5 separate regions of the Homo sapiens genome follow, and all the other regions are linked to region 3. The links are contacts of gene promoters, found by promoter capture Hi-C in blood cells and fetal thymus (Javierre and others, 2016). All regions are on one chromosome and are shown on one strand. The core of a region is centred on a gene start or on the middle of the fragment in contact, and the rest is flanking DNA. Distances in the headings are between cores, read along the strand shown. Region 1 overlaps VPS26C (VPS26 endosomal protein sorting factor C). Region 2 overlaps TTC3 (tetratricopeptide repeat domain 3). Region 3 holds the start of DYRK1A (dual specificity tyrosine phosphorylation regulated kinase 1A). Region 4 overlaps TTC3 (tetratricopeptide repeat domain 3). Region 5 overlaps DYRK1A (dual specificity tyrosine phosphorylation regulated kinase 1A).

Evidence for each region. Contacts are between HindIII fragments. The CHiCAGO score rates a contact against its expected background, and 5 or more counts as called.
Region 1: a fragment that was not itself captured here is called in contact with the fragment with the promoter of DYRK1A in region 3 in 6 of 17 cell types (total CD8 T cells, naive CD8 T cells, naive CD4 T cells and 3 more); the score reaches 7.3 in total CD8 T cells.
Region 2: a contact is called between a fragment that was not itself captured here and the fragment with the promoter of DYRK1A in region 3, in 1 of 17 cell types (endothelial precursors). The highest score is 6.8, in endothelial precursors.
Region 4: a fragment that was not itself captured here is called in contact with the fragment with the promoter of DYRK1A in region 3 in 3 of 17 cell types (naive B cells, total CD4 T cells and total CD8 T cells); the score reaches 5.5 in naive B cells.
Region 5: a contact is called between a fragment that was not itself captured here and the fragment with the promoter of DYRK1A in region 3, in 1 of 17 cell types (activated CD4 T cells). The highest score is 5.1, in activated CD4 T cells.

What each region holds. Positions count from the first base shown.
Region 1 is chr21:37,233,846-37,236,545 of GRCh38, reverse strand. The region is part of intron 3 of VPS26C (VPS26 endosomal protein sorting factor C); the gene reads left to right. Among named protein-coding and RNA genes, the nearest start is that of DSCR9, 27 kb to the right of the region's middle. The HindIII fragment of the contact is 3,584 bases long and covers 1-2,700 here.
Region 2 is chr21:37,166,872-37,169,571 of GRCh38, reverse strand. TTC3 (tetratricopeptide repeat domain 3) reads right to left here. Exons shown (of 46, transcript NM_001330683.2): 34 at 1,952-2,017. Among named protein-coding and RNA genes, the nearest start is that of TTC3-AS1, 26 kb to the left of the region's middle. The HindIII fragment of the contact is 655 bases long and covers 933-1,587 here.
Region 3 is chr21:37,365,486-37,368,185 of GRCh38, reverse strand. DYRK1A (dual specificity tyrosine phosphorylation regulated kinase 1A) reads right to left here and starts at 1,413. Exons shown (of 12, transcript NM_001347721.2): 1 at 558-1,413. RefSeq lists silencers at 1-190, 301-440, 681-760, 951-1,100, 1,681-1,990 and 1 more and enhancers at 103-1,027, 2,341-2,420, 1,952-2,700. The HindIII fragment of the contact is 3,979 bases long and covers 1-2,700 here.
Region 4 is chr21:37,202,433-37,205,132 of GRCh38, reverse strand. TTC3 (tetratricopeptide repeat domain 3) reads right to left here. Exons shown (of 46, transcript NM_001330683.2): 46 at 2,026-2,700. Among named protein-coding and RNA genes, the nearest start is that of DSCR9, 4.7 kb to the left of the region's middle. The HindIII fragment of the contact is 4,696 bases long and covers 1-2,700 here.
Region 5 is chr21:37,510,034-37,512,733 of GRCh38, reverse strand. DYRK1A (dual specificity tyrosine phosphorylation regulated kinase 1A) reads right to left here. Exons shown (of 12, transcript NM_001347721.2): 12 at 1-823. The coding sequence ends at 203. Among named protein-coding and RNA genes, the nearest start is that of KCNJ6-AS1, 7.3 kb to the left of the region's middle. The HindIII fragment of the contact is 1,046 bases long and covers 874-1,919 here.

The DNA of each region.
Region 1 (2,700 bases), core at 150-2,649, 130 kb after region 3:
AAAACTAAGGACGTTTGTCTCTATAATTACAGTTAACATTTGCACACCTATCAGAATTTGTAAAAATTCTCAAGTATTGATTAATTCTTGATTCATATCAAAATTTGTCGTCTTTTGAGAAAATAAATTTAAGAGAAACTAAGATTATGTTTTTTTAAATCTGTCATCATCCATCCATCCATTCATTCATTCATGCCATTATTTGGCAGGTCTTTTTCTTACAGTTTTATAGTAGAGCAAGTGCCGCCCAGAGACGGCAGTGACTTCCTGTGGTCACACAGGCCAGCCTCAGCCTGCGGGTCCAGACCAGCACTCCTCGGCCCGCACTGTTTACCGCACTTACTCTAAAGGTTAACATAGGCACATTTCTTTGGATAGAAACTTTTGTTGCTAAACCCTAATATCATCTTTCTTAAATTATGTGCCAAGAAATTTTTCATTCATAAATTGAATTGTGTTGTAACAATCTAAAACGGTAAAAATCATAAATCAGAATAAAGGATTTAAAAGATAGACGTGCTGGGTGCAGCGGCATGCACCTGTAAACCCAGCCACTTGGGAGGCTGAGGTAGGAGAATCACTTGAGCCCAGAAGTTCAAGTCCAGCCTGGGCAACATAGCAATACCTCATCTCTTAAGAAAAAAATTTTTTAATTAAAAAAAAAAATATATATATATATATATATATATATATACACACACATATACACACATATATATGTATATGTATCAAATGCCAGTATTATATTCCTGACTTCCAGAGGCTTGGCTTTCTTGTCATTTTTTAGATGAAGAGCTTGACATTCTTCTCAGTCATGTTGCGTTCATGTTTGTCTTTGTTACTAGATACTTCATATGATCATCAGAGTCTTCCGTAGTTGCCCTTTGTGCATCTACTTCTTCTTTTTACAATAATTTAAATTGTAGGCAAGTTTTATTAGGTTTGTTCTACTCTTGCTTTACTCTTGTAGCTGTGCTAGCAAGCGTTTATCCTATCACATAAAACATGTCTGCTGAAATTGTATATTCAGCACTCATTTCTAGAGATCCTAGTCATCCCTTTTCAAAGTTAAAAATTCCTTTTATAGGAATCTACTTTAAAACTATGGACAGGGCTGGGCACCGTGGCTCACGCCTGTAATCCCAGCAGTTTGGGAGGCGGAGGTGGGCAGATCACCTAAGGTCAGGAGTTCGAGACCAGCCTGGCCAACATGGTGAAACCCCGTATCTACTAAAAATACAAAAATTAGGCCAGGCACGGTGGCTCACACCTGTAATCCCAGCACTTTGGAAGGCCAAGGCATGTGGATCACCTGAGGTCAAGACCAGCCTGACTAACATGGTGAAACCCCATCTCTACTAAAATACAAAAATTAGCCGGGCATGGTGGTGGATGCCTGTAATCTCAGCTACTCGGGAGGCTGAGGCAGGAGAATTGCTTGAACCCAGGAGGCAGAGTTTGCAGTGAGCCGAGATCACGCCATCGCACTCCAGCCTGAGCAACAAGAGTGAAACTCCATCTCAAAAAAAAAAAAATTAGCCAGCCATGGTGGCGCGGCCCCTGTAATTCCAGATACTCAGGAGGCTGAGGCAAGAGAATCACTTGAAACCAGGAGGTGGAGGTTGCAGTGAACCGAGATCACGCCACCGCACTTCAGCCTGGGTGACAGAGTGAGACTCCGTATTAAAAAACAAAAAAAGAATATATATATTGTATATATATTCTACATAAAGATCCTTGCAGACAAGGATGATTCTTTTAAACAATGTTTTACTCTCCCAGTAGTACCTTAAATATATATAGTAACTTCTTATTTCATGCGGACAGGTTGTTCATACGAATATTAGCTTCTTGGAAGATTCAGTTATGCATAGAGTCCGAGTTATGAAAATTATTTTTGACATAATTCTGAAGTTTTTCCTGGACGATTAAAACAACAACTAACTTTATTAAACGTGGATTATGTGATTTTTTTTTAAAGACTGGCATTACAACAGTGGTCCTGCTGTAGAATTACATTTTTAAATAGTCTCTCAGCTCACGGACAGGGATTTGAAGCAACAGTCTCCGTTCAAAGCCTGCTTTAAGCTCAATACCAGCTCTGCAGTGGGGCTCCCCTTGGGGGAATAGAGCTCACCTTGCAGTAGGCACCATGGTAGCAACCAGCTCAGAAAACTAACCTAGGGACAGCAGAGAAATGGAATGCGGCTCTGCCACATTAAAAAAGCAAGTGTGCAAGTGCGATGCTACATTGTTTTCCAACCCACTTTTTCTTTGAGGTGCAGGCTACATCTGTGTGTTGGCAGATGGAGAGAGACCTCAGATGTCTCGAGAAATAAGATTAGCCATGAGTTGACCCTTGTGGAAGTTGGTTGATGGATGTGTGGGTTACTGCATATTCAGTAAACTAGAAGTTCCCTGAGGACCAGGTGTGACCTTGAGCTTGGCTCTGGTGCCCAGGGCAGTGCTATGCACTCAGAGCAGGTGCCCAGCGAGGAAGGGTTGTGACATGCTGGGTGCTGTCCCAGGGTTGCAGTCCTCACTGCATGGATTTTCTAATCCCGCTTACAAAGTAGCTGCTGTTTTCCAGCATTGCTTTGTGCCAGCCCTGTGCTGAGTGCTTGTCACACATGATCTCATTGGAGTCTCGCTGCAGGTGGGTCTTAAGAGCCCCATTCTACAGAAGGGAAGCAGAAGCTC
Region 2 (2,700 bases), core at 11-2,510, 200 kb after region 3:
GCCAATCTACCATCTTGATTGACTGACTGAGATGGAGTCTCACTCTGTCGCCCAGGCTGGAGTACACTGGCGTGATCTTGGCTCACTGCAACCTCCGCCTCCCAGGTTCAAGCAATTCTCCTACCTCAGCCTCCCAAGTAGCTGGGATTACAGGTAAGCTACCACACCTGGCTAATTTTTGTATTTTTAGTAGAGACGGGGTTTCAACATGTTGGCCAGGCACTCTCATATTAATGGTCTATGTATGTGGTAATATAGATAGATTTATATTGTGTTTTGATATTTAGTTGCACAACTCCTTTTCTTAGTTTCTCTTCCATACCCATTCTTGATGTTCATTTTTACATATGAAGTTTAAAATCAATTTGTCTAGTTTCAAATTAATCCTGTGCAGTAACCAGGCCTCTTGTTAGTCACAGCCTTGTATAGACCTCTCCTACCATGTATCAGGGTTGGTGGATTGATCTATGTGACCAAGAGAATGCGCAGAAGTGATAATTTGTGACTTCCTAAAGCACTGCCGCTTCTGCCTGGTATCACACACTCTGGGAAAAGCCAGCCCCATGAGGTCAAGCAGGGCTAGGTGGAGGTCCACAAGGCAAGGAACTGAAGCTTCCTGACAACTGCCAACATCCGCTTGCCAGCCATGTGAGTGAGCTATCTTGGAAGTAGAACCTCTGGGCCCAGTTACTCCCGCAGATGACCAAGCCCTGGTCAACATCTTGGCTAGCTACATGAGAATCTCCAGAAGCATCCAACTAAACTGCTCCTGAATGCCTGACTTAGCGAAATTGTGAGATTTCACAATTGTGAAATATTTTACTGTTTTAAGCCACTAGCTTTTGAGGTTGTTTGTTATATATACAGCAATATACATAACTAATTTGCCCTGTTCATGTATATACTGGGATTGTGTTAAATTTTAAAAAGCTTTAGGGAGAACCAATCTCATTATCATAATATGTGTTCTTATCCAAGTACATGAAATATCTTTTCATTTAAGGCTTCTATGTGTCTCTCCATAGCATTTAAAAATTTTTCTTTATATACATTTAAGTATTTTATCTCTTTTTTGGTATTGAAAATATTTTCTTTCAACATACTTTCTAACAGGTAATTGTTTATATATATTTTTATATACAAGTATAGGTTTATATAGGTTAGTGTAGGTTTTCAGTTGATCATTTTGGATTTTCCTGGTACACAGCCCTAGCCTCTGTAAATAATGATACTCACATCTCCTCTTTTCTATCTTCTTTCTTTCTCATATCTGCTTTCTCAGTTAATATACCCAGGATAACAATAAATATTAATGGTGATGTTTTACCATTAAGCAAGATGATGGCTTTTGGCTTAAAATATTAGCATGTTGAGAAATATTCATCAATTCCCATTTTCTTACTAGTTTTGGTCAAGACAGTGACCTGAATTTTATCCAATACCTTTACAGCAACTTTGAGTTGATAAGACAACTTTTCTCTTATGATGCATATTAACGAACTAAATTATATTAGTAGGTTTTCTAATTGAATCATTATTATAGTAGAGAAGGTCTTTATCTTTCTGTATTATTCGCATGAATAAGCTTACTTATAAATTATTATATGCTCATTATACCAGTTAAAACAATAAAGCTGGCCAGCCTGGATGACAGTGAGACCGTGTCTCAAAAATAATTAAAATAAAAATAAATAAAATTTTAAAAATAATAAAATAAAACAATAACGCTGTTATAATTTGAAATAAGTATGCTGGAAAAAAATTACCTTTTCCTTCCCTTCTCAAATTTCAACAATAAAAACAAAATCATTTTTTTGTTATGTTCTCAAGCTTATTCCATGATAACTTTGTGTGGAATAAGCTGACTCCAAAATAGTTCTAGTTCATCATTCCATCTAGATAAATTAATGAAAACTAAACCTTTAAACAGTTTAATGTAATTTTGACTCACTTGTCGTTCCTCAAAAGGATTATATGGCTCAGTATTGACTTCTTGGTGTATTATGTTCCAAGATACCTGTGGGCAAAACAAAAAATAAAATTCACTTTATCTCAATCGCTCTAGTAAAATAAGCCCATCAAGTAGTAACACTTTAAAACACACCCACAATTTTTTCAAGTTTTTTTTCCCATTTAGATCATGTTCCATGCTTTCCGTAAACATGTATATTAGGAAAGTTATTTAGAATTAGCATATCTGGAAATGATTATGATCCATTGCTCTTAACCTATTTTTTTCAAAGCTTCCTAGAAAACATAATGAGTGGGGCAATTCAATAAGGATTTAATGAATTCATACCCTATAAAGGCAACCATAGGAGAATCTTGATTTCATCTCTTCCTTGTTAGGAAAGAACTCATACACATCCCTCTTGTTTCTACCTGGCTGTCTCTTTTTAACATTCTCATTCCTCCCCTGGTTTGACAGGAGAAGCTGGGCCTGTGTAGGTCAGAGTCTTCCTTTTTCCTTCTCTTTCTGAGGAGCTGCCAGCACATTTTCCCTTCCTCCTTCATGCGCTAAGTCCTATGGGGCAGGCACCCCACGCTGGAAGGCCTCCAGGTGGGCCCTCCTGTAACTGGCAGGTAAGGCACTGTGATGCAGGCTACACTTCCAGCTAGCACTTGAACTTTCCTACAAACAGCCACCTTCTCCTCCAGCACCTTTATTAATTCTTAGGATGACGTTTTGGCTCCACCTGC
Region 3 (2,700 bases), core at 164-2,663:
TGCCCCTCGCTCCAGCGCGGACCCCCAGGGCCGCCGAGGCAGCGGCTCCCGACCTTCGCCGGCGCCCGGCCCGGCCCGGCCCCGCCGTCCTCGCCCACCCGGCAGCCGGCCCCATTTTCTTAACCCGTGCATTGTCCTTGCGAATCACCCCGGCGGTTCCCACACTGGTGGGGACCGAGAGGAGGGACGAGGGAGGAGCTGGGGGAAGAGGATGAGGAGGAAGAGGAGGAGGAGGAGGAGGAAGACAACCTCCACCCCTTCGCTCGGGCGGCCAGTGAAGGTCTGGCGCTGTCTACGGCCCCCCAGGCCCCGGCTCCCGGGAGGCCGCGGCCCCCGCTCCCACCCTCCGCAACTTTCCCTCCGCTCGCGCCCGCCGCTCCTCCGGGACCCGGCCTGAGGCTCCCTCCCCCGGCGGCCGGCCCTGGGCCCGCGGCGCCTCCTCCTAAAATGGCAGGTCCCTCCCTCCGCCCGGCCGGCCTCGGCTCCGGCCCGGCTGCGGGCCGCCGGGGGAGCCGAGCGCCAGGCCGGGCGGGGCCGCGGCCGGGCCGGACACTCACCGGGACGATGGCGGGGCGCTCGCGCCGCTTCCTCCGGTGAGTCTCAGCCTCGGGCTCCCGCGCCGCGCTCCCGCCGCGGCCTCCGCAGCCAGCGCCGCCCCGGCAGCCTCTCTCCGCCCCCGGCGCTCCGGCTCCTGGCCGCGCCGCAGCCTGCTCAGTCTCTCCTCGGCTCGCGGTTCCAGCGGCGCCCGGGGCCGGGGAGGCGACAGCCCCCTCCCCGGCAAATACCGCAGTCCCCGGGCCCCGATTCCAGGCGGCGGGGCCGCACGGCCGGCCCGGCGCAGAGGGCGGCGTCGGCGAGGCCGGGCGCCGAGCGGCGGCTGCTGCCGGCGGCTTCTTCCCGAGGAGGATTTTGTAAATCTCACAAAATGGCGCGCGCTCCGAACCTGCGCAGCGAGAAGCGCCGGGGCCCGGGCGGCGGCGGCGGCTCCTCCGCCAGGAGAGCCCGAACCGCCCGCCCCCGAGTCCCCGCACAGACAGACAGACACTCGCACACACCCGCACACTCGCGCGCACAATCGCCCTCGCACACGCTCCCTCGCACACACACTCGCACTCACACCGGTCCCGCCTGCTCGCCGGCGGCGGCAGCGGCACCAACAGCAGCAGCAGGAACAGCAGCAGCAGAAGCGGCGGCGGCGGCGCCCGCACCCCCCGCTCGGGGTGTCCGCTCTCTGAGGCCGACCTGGGCCGCGATCAGCAGCAGCGACAGCAGCAGTCTCCCCGGATACCCCCGCCGCGGTTGCCGCCGCCACCCCCGCCTCACTCCAATGGGGCTTTTTATTATTATTCGGGCGGGAAGCGAAAGGGTTTAAAAAAAAACCAACCAACAAAATGGCGACGGACCGACCCGGTCGCTATAGCAACTGTCAATCAAAACGCAAAACCCCGGCTGACGTGCTGACGTCCTCCTCCCGCCCCCCAGCCCCGAGCCGGCGGGCGGGGCCTGTTGCTCAGGTAACGGCAGATTCCGTTCCCTCCTTTCCGTCTCCCCCTCTGTCCCCAGCCAACCACCCAACCCCCTCAGGTCACGTGAAGGATAAATTCGGAGCTCGGGTCCGCTACGAGTGTCAGAGGAGGGCGCGTGATTCGCCCGGGGGAGGGGAGAGGAGGGGGACGGCTAGGCCGAGGGAGGGTAGGGGCTGGGGAAGGGGGGGCGAGGCGGCGGCCAGGCCTGTGCGCGATCGCCCGCCGCCTCCCGGCCGCCCCGCCCCGCCCCGCGCCCGCGCCGACTGCGGCCCGGGGAGCGCGCGCGGCCTCCCGCGCCGCCGCCCCCGCAGCCCTAGCGCCCCGCGCTTCCGCGTCGGCGCCCGCAGCCCCGCCCGCGCCGGGGGGAGGGGCGGGCTGCCCCGGGCGGGGGAGGGGGAGGAGGAGGGGCGCCGCGGCCTTCGGGCGGGGACCCGGGAAGCCCACCCCGCGCGCCCGGGCCTGGAGGGCTCTCACCGCGGTCCGGGCGCCGCGCTCGCCTCTCTCCCCGGGAAGCGCGGCGGCCGCGACCGTCCGCGCGTGGAGCCGGTTCTTCGAAGGGCTGGCGGGCCTCCTAGCCGGAAAATGCCGGCGGAGGCCGTGGTGGGGGCGGGGAGGAGCCACCGCCGCGCCCCAGACATCGCAGGAATTCCGGACGCTGCGCCGGGCCCGGCGGCCCTGAGGCTGGCACCTGGCTCCGGTCGGGCCGCCCAGGTTTTGTGGCGCCCGAGACCAGCGTTGGGAAATTAGGCTGGAGCCATCATGAAAACTTTTTCAGGCAGTGCACGCTCGCCTGTGCCTGCCCATCTGCTTCCAACCTCTCCCCACCTTTCGGGGCGCAGCCTGCCTGCTCCATCGGAATGCCCTTTAGATGAATCCCCTTGTGCTGTTACTGTGTCCTTGTCGTCCAGCTCTCTGGTTTTCTTTTCTATACACCTTCTCGGTTTCCAGAGTCTTAATTCGCCTGCTTGTCCTTAACCATCAAAACTCTTTATTAATATCCTGGCTTTCGCTGATTTTTATTCTCCCTACCCCTTCTCCCTAGCTATGTATTGCTGGGTGAGCTCCCGAGGCTTGAAAACCCAAGTATGCTGTGCTGGCTGCGTTGTAATCGGTAGAGAGCCACCAGCTAAAAATTGTATTTTGTACCAACTCTAATGGCATTTAATAAATGTAT
Region 4 (2,700 bases), core at 148-2,647, 160 kb after region 3:
TGATCCTCAACCCAAACTGGATAGGAAAGGTTGACTCAAAGCTGCTCAGTCCGATAATTTGGGAAAGCCAAAAGGTGAAATGATCCATTGCTATAGAATCACAATATTCCTGAAGTCAATTCAGGGAGATCTCAGGAACAAAGCTGTTATTTTCCAAAACGACTTTGAGGTGATCTGATTTCTTCTTGCTCTTTTCACCACTGGATCGTGTTCCAATCCAGGCCACACTGAGGAAGTGGACTTCCTAACTAACGGCGGCTTTCCTACTGTACTATCCTACTCTTTCTTGTGCAATTTCCAGGCCCTTAATCTTAGTGACAGTTAGTTGTTAGCTCCGGTTATCACGAGTTTGTGTGCAGGCACTGTGCTGAGCACTTCACCAGGAATTTACTCATCTGTATACCCTCCCAGCTTCTCCTTCTGATACCTTCTTTCTTTCTGAGGTCATACTGCAGATGCTTTTTGGTCCTCATTCTGACCAACCATCCTATCACTTTACGGCCTCTGCTTTTTCAGCCTCCTGAGTAAGTACCTCAGGCTGACAGAAGGAACTTCCATCTTTGCTATTGTGTCTTCTACTGTTTCCTTTAATTCCCTTCTCCAGTCATCTGACTAAAAAACTACTCTAAAATAGTTTTACTGCTTCAGTTTGTGGTGTGTTGAGCACTTTGACCACCTGCTGCGACTGCACACACACACACACACACACATCCTTTATCCGTGGGAGATATGTTCCAAGACCTCCAGTGGATGCCTGAAACCACAGAAAATTCCAATCCCCACATATGCAATGTTTTCTCCTATACATATGTATCTATGATGAAGTTTAATTTATAAATTAGGCACAGTAAGAAATGAACAACTAGAACTAGTAATAAAATAGAACAATTACACTGTAGTAAAGATTATGTGAGTGTGGTCTCTCCCCCTTAAAATATCTTATTGTACTGCACTGTACTTGCCTATTTTCAGACCACGGCTGACCGTGGGTAACAAACTGTGGAAATCAAAATCACGAATAAGTGGGGGCACTTCTGTAGTCTTTGAGATTACCTTAAAACCGTAGTAACATTTTGCATTGCTGGGGCACCACTTCAATTTTATACCAGGCTATCCATTATTCATAACATAGATTAAGCAGTTCAGCAGGGAAAACTAATCTAAAATCTTTTTTTTTTTTTTTTTTTTTTGAGACGGAGTCTCGCTCTGTCACCCAGGCTGGAGTGCAGTGGTGCGATCTCGGCTCACTGCAAGCTCCGCCTCCCGGATTCACGCCATTCTCCTGCCTCAGCTTCCCAAGTAGCTGGGACTACAGGCACACACCACGATGCCCGGCTAGTTTTTTGTATTTAGTAGAGACGGGGTTTCACTGTGTTAGCCAGGATGATCTCAATCTCCTGACCTCGTGATCCGCCCACCTCGGCCTCCCAAAGTGCTGGGATTACAGGCGTTAGCCACCGCGGCCGGCCTAAATTCTTAAGGAATAGTCATTGCTTTAAATTAAATTAAATGCCATCAGACTAAAAATACGTACTGATAATACTTTGAATACACTTGAAAAAACAGAAGACAGATTTTGAAAATGAGCTTTCTTCAAATGAGCTTTCACTCTGTGAGTGCTCAGCATACCCAGAAGCCCCTCTATAGAGGAAACCCCATCGACAGCCTCAGTGGCCCATAAATCCACAAATGCCTCAAAAAATATACCAAGGAATGCAATTTATCTTCAACATCCTTATATGTATTCACATGAAAAATCTCTTAATTTAGCCTTAAGAAGTAAACTCTATCATCTCTGTGTGAACTCCTATAGTCGATCTTACGCAGGCACAAAGGAAAATTCTGACCCAGGCCCTAAAACGCCCTGAGATCCCTGGTCAGACTCCTCAGACACAGCATGGCGTGGCTGTTCTTTCCTGACGAAAGCACTCTTAAAATGTTAGCATGACATACATGTCCTAAGTTTTCCAGAAGAATGCATTTTTAAACTTCTCTAAGAAAGAATGGACAAGAGTGACAGTGAACTTCTCATTTTAGAATGTTCTTTATTCTGACAGTTGTTGGACAAATATAAGGCATGTTCACAAGTATCTGAAGTTATGTACAAAACACACTCATTCAACGGATGTTCCTCTTCTCCTTTTGTACTTGCTGCTGCAAACTGATCCTCATGCACGTTAACACCCATAGCGCTCAATTCTTATGGATATGCAGACAGTGTTTTGGGGACCACCGTGGAGAATCTGTTTCAAACTAAGGCGTGAGCTTCTAAGAACTAAGTCACTAAGACATCAGAACTCACAGTGAACAAAGGCAGAGGAAGGTGACCAAATCAGCTCATAAACTCATGACTCTAAGTTTCCAGTGGAACAAAGAACACATTGAAAAACATTTTTTGATCCTTCATGTTGGAGAGAAATGGAATGTGACCAGAATTCATGGTTCTATATTTACCACTGTCTAAAAGTCACAAAACAATATCTAATTTTTTCATGGTTTCTAATGCAGTTACAGTTTTGTTCTTAGGTCACAGTACAAGACTGCATGCATACTTTACACAAATATCAAACACAGAACGATTGTAACACAGATACCTCAGGGTTGTCTAAAGACACAGCTTCTCTTTTTGTGGTGGGGTGGGGAAGGAGAATGGTGGTGGCCATTTCCACACACAGCCTGTTGTGTGCTCAGCACGGCTGG
Region 5 (2,700 bases), core at 147-2,646, 140 kb before region 3:
GATGGGTTTGGACATGGCTCTTTTAAACACTTCAATGTCCCTTTGCAATCTTTTCAAGTTAAAAAAAAAATCAGCTTTGCCCTCTTGTAGCGGTTCAGTGTGTTAATCTCCTCCTGATTCAAGCAGCTTTGCACTTTGTTTTTGGAAAAAAAACACCACTTCTATAAAAACACACAAGAAACAAACTCAAGTTTCAATGTAGTCACGAGCTAGCTACAGGACTCTGTTGCACACAAACTCCTGTCATGGGGGACTCTTCTCTATCAGCCCCTTGCCTCATTGTCAGATGTCCTTCAGTCATGTAATGTGCAGGACCTGTATTAGCAGAAAATTGGTATGTTGGATGTCCAGCTATGCCAGTCTCTTGGCGGGGATTGGAGTAGACGGTCAAATTAACGTCCATAGCTCCATTCTGTCCAAAGTCCAAGGTATTAGCAGCCACTGGGCGATTCTGGTAGGCCTGATTGCCTTGGTTACCAGTAGAGGAGGAAGATGTCGAGGAAGAAGTCGTTGAGGAAGACAGGGATGTCATGGAGTGGTGACTGTGGCCAACCTCCATAGAATCTTGGGTAGAGGAGCTATTCGTTGGAGAATTGTAGACCCTTGGCCTGGTCCGGTTACCCAAGGCTTGTTGTCCATGGTGGTGGTGATGGTGGTGGTGGTGGTGATGGTGATGGGAACTGTTACCATGGTGATGATGCAATGCATTCTGTTGAGGGGCTACATGAAAGGTTGTTTCTTGAACAGGATGAGTTTCAACAGTGACCTGTGTAGGAGCTTCAGTGCCTGACCAACCAAGAGGAGCAGGAAATTGCTGACGCACCTGAAAGAACAGATTTTTAAAAGGATTTTTCAGAGGACTGTTTCCAAGCTTTAATCTTCCATCAAAAGCCATGACACTAACAAACTAGCATCATATTAATCAGGGGGAAACGGTTTTTGAAACTTTTAATGTGTTAAGACAGTTTTATAACACAAAATCCCAAATACATTCAAGGGCAAAAAATTTCATCATGAAAGCTGCAATTTTTAGGAAGTTATATCCTTAAATAGGTTCATCTATTTCACTAGCCACTGTCCTTCCTTGGGAGCCCTGTTTATGCCAGGGGTCAGCAAATATTTCCTGAAAAGGGCTGGACAGTATTCTGGGCAGGTCCAAAAGGAAGTCTTTACTTTTCCCTCATGTCCTTCCTCTCTCCATCTTTCTTCTTTCAATAAAGGACTACTATCTACCTAGCTGCTCAACAATGCCTCTGTCCAACCCATGAGCAAGAACTTATGAGTCTACCTGTGAAACAGATTCCAAATTTGGCCTCTTCTCTTCATCCCCATCATCTCTTGCCTACGCTAACACAACAGCCCCTTAAATGAACTCCTTGTTTCCATCCTTGCCCTTCTCCAAAGGGTAGCAGGAACAATCTTTTCTTAACACAAATCCAATCACTTCCCTATTTAAAATCCTTTAATGACTTCTCACTGCACTTAGAAAAACAAAATAAACCCAAATGGATACAACGATCTGCATCATCTGGCCAATGCCCACTTCTCTAACCTCTTTCTCCACCCATCCTATCCCTGGCTACCTGAGTTCCAAACAAAGAAGACCTGCCTTCCATTCCTCCCCTGGGTCAAAATCTCTCAAATGCCTCAGTGTACTAGTAACACGCTGCTCCCTTCTGCCTAGAAATGTTATTTCTTGGATTTTCTTATTGCTTGGATGTCTCTTTTTCATCGCTTCAGTTCCAGAGCCTTCCCTGACCACTCTGGCTGATGCTGCCTCAACAACTGTGGCAGAAGCTACTGGTTGTGCACAATATTCTTCTCGTTCCTGAGCACATGGCTACACAACACTTCCCAGCCTCCCTTGTACTTACTGATGGCCATATGTCTAAGCTGTCAATGGAATGTGAATGAAAGCTTGTGTCACTGCTAGCCTGGCACACAAGATAATACCTCCCAAGTCCTTCTGCCTGCTGGACACAGTAGACAAGTAGGCCCTAGGGCAAGGTGGAACCACAAGATGGTAGGAGATCAGGACCTGGAAGACGGCCTAGCCACTAACCTGAACACCTATTCTGGACTGTTGCACAAAAATGAAGGAAACTTGGTACTCTTTAAGCTACCATATTTTGGGGGTCTGTTATATCAGAGTTTGGCCTATTCTAATTAATACATCCTATCCAACAAACAGTCTTTCTCTACCAAATTATCCTTATTTTCTTTTTAACAGCTAATGCTACTTGCCATTTTTCTTCATGTTCATTTTATTTACTTGTGTCACTGTAAGCTCTAGGAAGGCAAAAGGCTCAGTCTCTATCCAGTGGCTGGCACAAATTGTTAAGGGTTTATTCAACAAAGGTGGTCTGAGAACCAAACTTTTAAGAGATACTACTGAAAACAATCAGTAGAAAAGCTGGCAGTGAGTTCTCAGAAAATACTATATGGTTTTTATATGAAGTTAATCAAGTTACTGGATTAGAAAATCACATGGGGGGCAATCTGGCAATAGTTATCAAAATTATAAATCACATTACCCTTTGAAACAGTCATTCTGCTTTCAGGAATTTATATCACAGATAAAATGTCTATGTGTGAATGAGACATGTACAGTGGTGCCTCCTTATCCACAAGAGATACAGTCCAAGATCCCCACTGGATGCCTGAAACTGCAGAGGACTAAACCCTCTATATACTATGTTT